2 separate regions of the Homo sapiens genome follow, and region 2 is linked to region 1. Evidence: promoter capture Hi-C in 16 types of primary human blood cells and fetal thymus (Javierre and others, 2016). All regions are on one chromosome and are shown on one strand. Each heading gives the region's core, a stretch centred on a gene start or on the middle of the fragment in contact. The rest is flanking DNA. Distances are from core to core; before and after follow the strand shown.

What was found. Contacts are between HindIII fragments. The CHiCAGO score rates a contact against its expected background, and 5 or more counts as called.
Region 2: a contact is called between a fragment that was not itself captured here and the fragment with the promoter of MAP3K8 in region 1, in 1 of 17 cell types (total B cells). The highest score is 6.0, in total B cells.

What each region holds. Positions count from the first base shown.
Region 1 is chr10:30,431,417-30,436,623 of GRCh38, reverse strand. It overlaps MAP3K8 (mitogen-activated protein kinase kinase kinase 8), which reads right to left and starts at 2,440. Exons shown (of 9, transcript NM_005204.4): 1 at 2,246-2,440. RefSeq lists enhancers at 939-1,476, 1,601-1,650, 1,941-2,040, 2,761-2,900, 3,572-4,453 and 3 more and a silencer at 2,481-2,720. The HindIII fragment of the contact is 9,039 bases long and covers 1-3,059 here.
Region 2 is chr10:31,937,749-31,942,955 of GRCh38, reverse strand. The region is part of intron 2 of LOC107984219 (a long non-coding RNA gene); the gene reads right to left. Among named protein-coding and RNA genes, the nearest start is that of ARHGAP12, 12 kb to the right of the region's middle. RefSeq lists an enhancer at 1,294-2,493. The HindIII fragment of the contact is 708 bases long and covers 1,675-2,382 here.

The DNA.
Region 1 (5,207 bases), core at 1,191-3,690:
GATTCTAAAAGACAAATCCTAAAAGAGCTGTAAGACAAGATGTTAGTTTTTAAACCCTGCAGAAAAGTCTCAGGCATTTATATGTAAAACCCAAGAGCTTGAACACACACAACCACACCCCTAAACTGTGAGTTGCCTGGAAAGGGGAGAGGGAGGGAAGCAGGACCCGGGAGGTGGAGGAGTGTCTGACGCTGAGACTTTTCTCAGTGCCTGCAGTAATTCCTTAGCAACACAGGGCCCCTGTCACGCAAATCTACGTTCCCCAGAAACCCTGCTGACCAGTTCGCCTGCTAACTGCGCCTGCAAAAAGCCTCAGCACTTTCCAGCCTTAATTAAGCACACAATATGCTAATGGTTTCTGAGTTATTCATGATCTGTGCCCATCTAGAGAAAGTTCAGATTGTGAAGGTATTCTAGTTTGGCAATAAAGACGTTTAGTATAAGATGATTTTTCCCTTGACACAGTTTACAATAAAAGTCCTCATAAAATTCCTACTTCCTAACCAAACAGAAAATTATGCCAGCTTTTGGAATTGGAGAGATGTGCAAATACAGTCAAAATTAGTTACACTGAATTATTTCAGAAATCAGCAATAAAATCACGAGGAAATTCTCTTCCTAAACATTAACATAATACTCTTGGCTGCCTCCATATACAGAAACAAAATGTGAGTGTTTCCTGGCAAGTGTGAATGAAAATGGCCAGCATAACAGCATATGCTTCTGCCTAACAAAGAATGACTATTACTTGTGTTATTTCTCATTTAAAATATTTTTTTAGGCCGGGCACAGTGGCTCATGCCTGTAATCTCAGCACTTTGGGAGGCCAAGGAGGGTGCATCACCTGAGGTCAGGAGTTCAAGACCAGCCTGGCCAACATGGTGAAACCCTGTCTCTACAAAAATTAGCCGGGCGTGGCGGCGGGCGCCTGTAATCCCAGCTACTCGGGAGGCTGAGGCAAGAGAATCGCTTGAACCCGGGAGGTGGAGGTTGCAGTGAGCCGAGATCGCGCCATTGCGCTCCAGCCTGGGCGACAAGAGTGAAACCCCCTCTCAAAAAAAATTTAAAAATTATATATACATATATACATATGTGTGCCAAAATAGTACATTCTCCCTCAGGGCACATTTCTGACTATGTTTTTGCTCTCAAAAAGCCCCGGATTATGCGTTTCAGGCGTATGGAAGGAAGGACCGACACTCTGCTTCAAAACCTCTACATGCCTCAACGTTCCCATTTGCTTTACACGACAAAGTCCTCATGGGCCGTATGCCAGACGTCCTGCACACAAACCTCAATCCGTCGCAGAGAGCTGGGGGCGTCAGCTGGAAGTGGATTACACTCTCCTTGGCACAAACGACTCAGGCCACAGGTATGTAAAGCAACTGCAAGAGCCTTTCTGTCCCTGTTTTTTATCAAGAGCAGCCTTTAATCTTGTCTTCCCAAAAGTGAAATAGACAAGCATCGCAACGTTTCTCTCTTACAGGCAGCCGGTGGCCTTCCCCTGTTAACTATGGAGACAATCCCTAGGCGTCCTTCTCCGCCCAGAGCTAGAAAAATTTCAGAGTCCTGATCATGCACTATCGCTCGAAAACAACTTCCGTGAAAATAACTTTTTTTTTCTCCTAGTATTCTTTCTTAGACCAAAAGCCCAGCCTTCGTGTTCTGCTATGACCTCTTTAGTCATGGGATAGAGTCCGGGTTACAAACTTGAATTTAGTTCCAGCCATTCACAAGTCTCTGGGCTCCGCCAACCCACACTCCCACTCCTTTCCTCCTGGTTCTCTAAGTCAAGGGAGCCTAAAAGGCTTATAAATTATCAAAGCACCCAGCATTTGGGAGGATCGGGTCCTCCAGCCTCCGAGCTGCACTCACCGGGTCTCGGGCAGGGAGAGTGCGGCCGTCCAGGCGGCGTCGGCAGCGGGAGGCGCAGTGACAGCGGGTCCCCGCTTCCCCGCGCACTGCCCAGACCAGCACTGCCCTGGCGCTGCGGATACGGGAAGGAGGAGGAAGGGGGAGGAGTCGCGAGTCTGCACCCCGTGAGACCCTTGCGCAAGGTGCTTTCCAGCTGTGCCTGGTGCAGCCGGCGACCCGCGAGCGCAGCTGTGGGCACGCCCCCACCTCTTCCCACGCCAGAGTTTTCCCCTCTGCTGGGGGCACCCTCCATTTCTGCATGGGAATCCCCGGGGCACCCAGGCGGGACGCGACCCGAAAGACACGCCGGAGACCCCCAACCCTGGATTACCTGCGGCCTTGGCGCTCCCACGCCGGCCGAGCGCTCCAGCCGCGGCCCCCCGAAGGTTCGGTGCGATGCTGGCTGCAGGCCTGTGGGAGCCGAGCACGCCGGGCCACTGGGATCCGGCGGCGGCAGCGGCAGAAGCAGGAACCAGGGCGCCGGACCCCAGAGCGTGGCGCGCAGTCCAGAGCGGAGCGGACGAGTGAGACCCGCGTCGCCCGCACGCTCAGACCGCCCTGCTCTGCCCCTGACTCACGGCGTCTGAGCCTGCCCAGGGGCGGCGCAGCGGACGCCAGCCACCGCCTCCCCGACTTTTCCATTTCCCCTTTCTCTCCGTAAACAGAAAGAGACTGCCCGGTTGCAGGGTAAGCCAGAGCCCCCGCGCTGGGAAATTCCGCGTCTCCCCCCCACCCGCCACCCCGCCGCCCCTCATTTGCCCTCTGGGCGCCCGGGCGGAGCTGGAGGCGGGACTAGGGAGGAGCAGAGCGGCGCGCAGGGAGGAGCGCGGGACGTGAGCTGCGGCCCGAATCGAGAGCCTGGGACGGGGACGAGTTTTCCCCCGGGCCTGGTGACCCAAGGCGTCTTAGTGGCGGAGTTGCAAGAGGTGGTTGTGCCCTTCCCGGTCCCCAGGGAAGGTCGTATATCTTAGTGTACTCGCGCCCTCGGCGCTTCTCTGGAGTCCCAGGGTCCGGCGGGAGGGCACGCTCCCGGGGGGCGGCGGGGAGGGCAGTCACCAGACCTTTTTCCGCGCGCCCCACGCTCTGGGGTGGGGACAGAGGCGCCGTGTGCCCTCCCAGCAGTGCTGCGGGAAGCCGGGGAAGCTTCGGGGCTTCTTGGAACCGCGACTGTGGGTCCGATTGCTAGTAGCACGGCCCCGCCTCGCCCAGATTTCGCTTCAAATTCACACACAAAGAGGGCAGTGACCCGTGGTGCGCACGCACACATTCCAACTTAGAGATTTCCAAGAGGCTGCGGCAGGGTGGGCCCGGAACCTGGTTGTTGGGCGCTCGGCTGGGAGCCTGTGCACTCCGCCAGCAGAACCTGGTTTTCTTCTCTGCAGTCTTTATTAAAATTGGTTATTTTGCGGCACCGCCTCATTAGGAAGCGTACTTGTACTATCTCCCCGCTCCCGCCTACCGCTAACCCTCAGTCCTAGCTGCTCATCTGGGGTTTTCCTTCTAGAGTGTCAAGCTTTTACTCCAGGTGTAACCGGAAGAGAGTTCTAGAGAAAAGCGCCACTCTCCCGAAATCCACTCTGCGGGACATTCCCAATGCCCCGCCACCCCCTCCCCCTACATTTCCCACGTATCAAGCACCCACTAGGAACCAGGCATTCGGCTAGAGCGCGGAGAGCTAGGAGCCATGTAAGGTCGACATCCTCTCTCTCTCTCTCTCTCTCTCTCTCTCTCCCCCCCCACCTACGGCCCAGGAGGTGGGGTGTCCCAGGCACAACCCAGATTCAAACGCGGTCACACTCCAAGTCCACGCCCTATTCTTCCCAGTGCCCAGGTCCGTGCTCCCTCTGCAGTTTCTAGATTGCCTCCGCGCGGTTGCGCACGCCTGTAATCCCAGCGCTTTGGAGGCCGAGGCGGGAGGATCACTTGAGGTCAGGAGTTGGAGACCAGCCTGGGCAACATAGCTACCCCGTCTCTACAAAAAATCTAAAAATTAGCCAGGCATGGTGGCTCACGCGTGTCATCCTAGCTCCTCGGAAGCTGAGGTAGGGGGATCCCTTGAGCCCAGCAGTTCGAGTCTGCCGTGAGCTATGATTGCGCCATGGCACTCCAGCCTGGGCGACAGAGCGAGGCCTTGTCTCAAATTTAAAAAATAAAATAAAACAAAAAAATTTTTGAGACTGAGTTTCGTTCTTGTTGCCCAGGCTGGGGTGCAATGGAGCGATCTGGGCTCACCACAACCTCCGCCTCCCTGGTTCAAGCGATTCTCCTGCCTCAGCCTCCCGAGTAGCTGGGATTACAGGCATGCGCCACCACGCCCGGCTAATTTTGTATTTTTAGTAGAGATGGGGTTTCTCCATGTTGGTCAGGCTGGTCTCAAACTCCCGATATCAGGTGATTCGTCCGCCTCAGCCTCCCAAAGGGCTGGGATTACAGGCGTGAGCCACCGCGGCCAACCAAAAATAAAATTTAAAAAAAAAATTTGCCTTGTACCTTCTCTAGAGCCCTCCACATTTCTGCTATGGAAAATGAATTACAATACAACCCGAGGATGTATTGAGAGAATTGCTGGAGGAGATAGGTTAGTTGAGGTGACAAGCCAGGGGCTTTTTGCAGGACCTTAACTCGCAGACAACAAGCCCAGGTAGCAAATCCAACGTCGAGGGCCGATTGACTGAATGGGCACTGTCATCCGTCAAGTTATTTTAAATACGAGAGCGATTTAATTTATATTCATTCACCTCATGAAGCAGGGCTTTGCCATTCCCTCCAAATATCCAGGCAGTCCCTTGCACCTAGAGGAGAACCCCTTCCTGAACCCTCCGCCTTTCTGATCTTGGAGGGAGGGAAGGCAGCTTCCACCAACCCGGCAGCACTGACCCGGCAGAAGCAGCCTGGGCCGGGGTTGGGGAGGAGAAGCCCCGCTCGCTTGCGCGCCGGATGGGTGGAATTTGGCACTGGCTCAAGCGGGTTATCCCAGTCTCAGCTGAAGCCGAAGTTATCAGTACACTTTTGGCCTTTTCGCTGGAAACCAGGTTAGCACAGGTTGTTACCTCTGATTGTAACGTGAGAAACAGAGACGTCTCTTTCTCTACTGCCGTGTTTAGACAACAAAGGATGATCTTTACACGAGTTTTAAAAATAGAACCATGGAACCACTCCCCTCCCCACCCGCCTTGTGTGAGCTCATTAAAACCACACCTAATCTTCTGGGAACTGCATTATTAGCCTTACTTCCTACACAGAAGTCTCCCAAATATAGCTGCATTTTAGGGAGCTGGTGAAATGGCTGGTCT
Region 2 (5,207 bases), core at 779-3,278, 1.5 Mb before region 1:
ATAAATAAATTTGTTAGCCACTAAGAAGGAGGGCTCCGGAAGCTTTGTGATTTAAGAGAAGCACATCACAAAGGGGAATCTACTCCTGTTTTCAATTAACCATTGAAGTGAAGGCATGGGAAACTTTACAGAAATAATGTGGATTTGCAACAAGGAAATTCAATATCAACACTTTGAAGAATCTTATTCATACAAGACTGGGAAAGCAGGCAGCAACTTGGTTTATTTGTGTGAAGCTATGGGAAACTATTTTTTATTTTTATTTGTGTAGAGATGGGGTCTCACTATGTTGCCCAGGCTGATCTTGAACTCCTGGCCTCAAGAGATCTCTCATTGCCTTGGCTTCCCAAAATGCTGGGATTACAGGCATGAGCTATTGTGCCTGGCTAGAAACTGTATTAGTAGATACTTTCCATTGGTTAAGAGCTGAAAAACATAATTAAAAGTAGTGTTAGAGAAGCCACATGCTCGGATGCAGAGCCAACACAATTTGTCTGTCAAACCCAAGGGAGATGGTTTTTGTTTTACCTTTTTCCCCCAATTTCTTTAACTATTATACAACTTTTGCTTTCTTTCATATATTTTCCCCCATATGAAATAGGATTTCATATATATTTAGTTAAATTCTCTCTTATTCTACACACACACACGCACACAAAATAGAAAGTTAATCAAACAGAAAAAAATGGTCAGAAAGTTCTACATGGCAAGGACTTTTCTGTTTTTTTTTTTTTGAGACAGGATCTTCCTTTTTTGCCTAGGGCAGAGTGCAGTGGCACAATGCTGGCTCACTGCAACCTCTGTCTCCTGGGTTCAAGTGATTCTCGTCCCTCAGCCTCCCTAGTAGCTGCGATTACAGGCAGGTGCCAACACACCTGGCAATTTTTTTTTTAGTAGAGATGGAGTTTCACCATGTTGGCTAGGCTGGTCTCGAACTCCTGTCCTCAAATGATTCACCTGCCTTGGCCTCTCAAAGTGCTAGGATTACAGGCATTAGCCACTGTGCCCGGCTATTCTAGGCTTTTTCTTTTCTTTTTTCTTTTATTCTTCTTTTATTTCTTTTTGAGACAGAGTTTTGCTCTTGTTGCCCAGGCTGGAGTGCAATGGCACGATCTCTGCTCACCTCAACCGTCACCTCCCAGGTTCAAGCGATTCTCCTGCCTCAGCCTCTCAAGTGGCTGGGATTACAGGCATGTGCTACCATGCCCAGCTAATTTTGTATTTTTTAGTAGAGGCGGGGTTTTTCCATATTGGTCAGGCTGGTCTCAAACTCGCAATCTCAGGTGATCTGCCCACCTCGGCCTCCCAAAGTGCACGGATTACAGGCGTGACCCTGGCTCTAGTGCTTTTTCTAAGTAGCCATGTTATTTGCCTGTTTCTCTTCCTTTTGTTAAAATAAATCTTTTGGACTTAGCACACCGTGGATAGTGAATAGATATTTCAGAGTCAGAGAACAGTTCACTTTGATTTCACAGATTTTATAGAATATGCAAAGCACAGAGGCTTTACTGCACATCTAGATTTAAACTTGGTAGTCCTGACAATTCTAGAATCTGTGATGTTATACCAGGAAATGAAAGCTAAAACTATCTCATTTTAGCCATTAATTTTAACCTTTTCTCTCACTAACCTTCAAACAAAACCAGTAAGGTGGTGAAAAAAACGTTCAAAGCTTTAAACCTTCCCACTGACCTTACACCCCAAAGATCAAAGTGAAGACTATGCTGTGATTTGCCTAAAAGACAAAAAGATGAGAGATCAAGGCTCTGCATTAGTCATGAAGTGAACATTTGTCTCAAAATCAATCAAAATAGACTTGGCAGGAATATTGAATGAAGCCAACATTTTGCTCTTGTGCAACTGTCACAGATCACATAGTGGCTGCATTTTATATCTCATAGAATGGTGCCTCCAGCAATGTGAGTGAGAGCACTGGTATTTTCCTGACTCATAAGGACAGGAGTGTGCCGCCCGCTGAATCACCCTCCTCATTTCCGGGGGTGCCTGGGTGTTCCAAGACACTCATGGAGGATTAAATTATGGTTGCCATGACAGCTCCCTAAATGCTGTCTTGATAATATCAACAGCTATAGTATCAGTGTTCCCTGAATGCTGACTTATTTTCTCTTCCAAAACCTCAATAATTTTCGTAATCAAAGTTCTTCAATAGCTATGCAAATCTAAGGAATTAGTAAAAATCCTTTTTTTCTTAGATAGGTTGCCATATTAAGATACAACTCATCTCTTTCCATAAGATATATTCTTTTGAGTGAATGGTAATTGACATATGATGTTGTTTGTTGTATTTTTAGAAGGTATGAATAATATCAAAGTTAGAATAAAAATGGAAAGTTCTCACAATTTTTTAAAGTTATGGAAGCTTGTATTTGAGGACACAAATCTGAATTTTTTAAGCATTAGCTGGCATCCTGTGATAGAGGGGGCTGGTTTTACATGTGCCAGTGATTATGCAAATTACCATATGTAAGAACCTGCCTAGGTAAGAGGATGTTCTGTCCCTCTCCCTCTTCCATTCTAATGATTTGAGATATCAGTGAGTAGAGGCAAGGGAAGAAGTTCCTGGCAAACCTGTATTTTTATTTTAAAAAATCTCACTGTTGGGAGGTTGCAATATCTTTTAGGAGCATTACCTTAGAGCATTGAGTACTGAAGGTCACTTGCAGATGTCATAACGAACACCACAAAATGTTCAATGACCTTGATGCTTATTGAAATGTCTTCACTGAATGTTTTGAAACTGGGCAACTCTTGAGCCTTCTTTGCTGCTTTCTGATACAGTGTTCTCCTCTTTTCATTTCACTTTCTCTTAGGATGTTTGCTATTACTTTTTTGCTGAGATGTTCCTGGAATCCTTCTAATTTTAGTTGAACAAACATTTATCAAAGACCTGTTGTGTTCCCAAACTGTTCCTGTTTAGGAAAGCAGTTAATCAAGTGTATTAGTCAGGGTCTTGTCAGAGAGAAGTCCACTCAAATGAATTAAGTGGGAACAGACTTAAAGATAGGCTATTCACAAAGGTGAGGGTAGGTTAAGGGAACTTGTAAGAGACGGTGAATCGGGGAGCATTACAGAGCCTGGAGGGAGCAGGAACCATCTTTATCGTTTATTGTTATGATATGCCATATGCCAGGTTTTGCTCCTGAAACTATTTTCCATGAAATCCCCTTGTAATCTCTTTCTAAAATGAGAACAAGGGCATATTGCAAAAGGGAAACTGTGCCTTGATAGGAATGTGCTGATATATATTATCTCCTTTTATCCTCCCACCCACCTCAATATACCAATCCTATGGATTTTAATACTATAATTTGTTTGGATGTTTTTATCTACTGTACCAGATTATACAAATTTACATAAAGTTTCCTCCACCGATGTACTTACTGTTTGATACTTGCTAGAATTTCCAGTGCAATGTTGACTAGGAGTGGCAAAAGCATGAATTTTTGCCTTGTTCCCGATATTAGGGAAGGACTTTTATTTTTGAATCAAGAAATATTATTTATATCTTAGCTGTGTTTCATATAGAAACATTGTGTGCCCAAATGTGACAAATAGTAAATGTTTTTCATGTAGTCTAAATGATCTCAAATAATAAATTATTTATTGCTGATTTTTATTAATTTTAGGGTCATTTCCTTAGTGCCTGAGTGAAACTAAAATGAGTGTATATTTAATTTAGAGGATAACAGCAGAACAAATTATCAATTAAAATATATCTGAATTATTGATTGGGTGATTACACATTTTAAATTTGAAGGCCAATTACTAAATTTTCTTCTATTAGGCAGCCAGGGCTACATAATTTTGGAAAAAAGCTCTAGGTGGCAATCTGTCTCTTAGCCCTTTACTATGTTGAAGTCAAAAGAAAATAGAGATGAATCTCTAGGCATTTTATTTGGGAATCACAGAATTGTAATTCAGAGCATACACAGATTACAGAGGTTTTCCAGAGGCCCAAAGGACAATCCCAAAGTCAATTTTAGGTTAAAAAAACTTTTAAATTAGAATTTGGTTTTGGGAAAGTGGCAAAGATGTTAAAGGCTTAAAATATTTAATTAAAGTAGAATTGCATGCCATTGAGAAATAATAGCCATTTATTTAATCAGAGTGATAAATGAAAGACTTCAAAAGCAAATACAAGAAGTAACATAGGCCAGGCATGGTGGGTCATGCCTGTAATCCCAGCACTTTGGGAGGCCGAGGTAGGCGGATCGCTTAAGCTCAGGAGTTTGAGACCAGCCTTTGCAACATGGCAAAACCTCATCTCTACAAAAAATACAAAACTCAGCTGAGAGTGGTGACATGTACCTGTAGTTCCCAGCTACTTGGGAGGCTGAGGTGGAGGATTGCTTGAGCCTGGGAAGTTGAGGCTGCTATGAACTGAGATCACCCTGCTGCACTTTAGCCTGGGCAACAGAAGACGACCCTGCCTCAAAAATAAATAAAACTGGCCAGGTGTGGTGACTCACGCCTGTAATCCCAGCACTTTGGGAGGCTGAGGTGGGTGGATCACCTGAAGTCAGGAGTTTGAGACCAGCCTGGCCAACATGGTGAAACCCTGTCTCTACTAAAAATACAAAAATTAGCTGGGTGGTACGTGCCTGTAATCTCTGCTACTTGGGAGGCTGAGGCAGGAGAATTGCTTGAACCCAGGAAGTGGAGGCTGCAGTGAGCCAAGATCGTGCCACTAAACTCCAGCCTGGGCGACAGAGCAAGACTCTGTCTCAAAAAAATAAAAAAATTGGCCAGGCATGGTGGCTCACACCTGTAATCCTAGCACTTTGGGAGGCCAAGGCGGGCGGATTGCGAGGTCAGGAGATCGAGACCATCCTGGCTAACATGGTGAGACCCCATCTCTACCAAAAATACAAAAAATTAGCCGGGCGTGGTGGCAGGTGCCTGTAGTCCCAGCTTGGGAGGCTGAGGCAGGAGAATGGCGAGAACCCGGGAGGTGGAGCTTGCAGTGAGCCGAGATCGTGCCATGCACTCCAGCCTGGGTGACAGAGCGAGAGTCTGTCTCAAAAAAAAAATAAAAATAAAAATAAATTAAAAAAAAAAAACCAACCAAAAAAATCCAAAATCAAAACTCCGTTGAGACAGAGAGAAAAAAAATAAACTTGGCTCTGTATTGAGATAACTTTTTCCAAGTAGTCAAAAACCTAATAAAAACAGGAAAAGCACAAGAA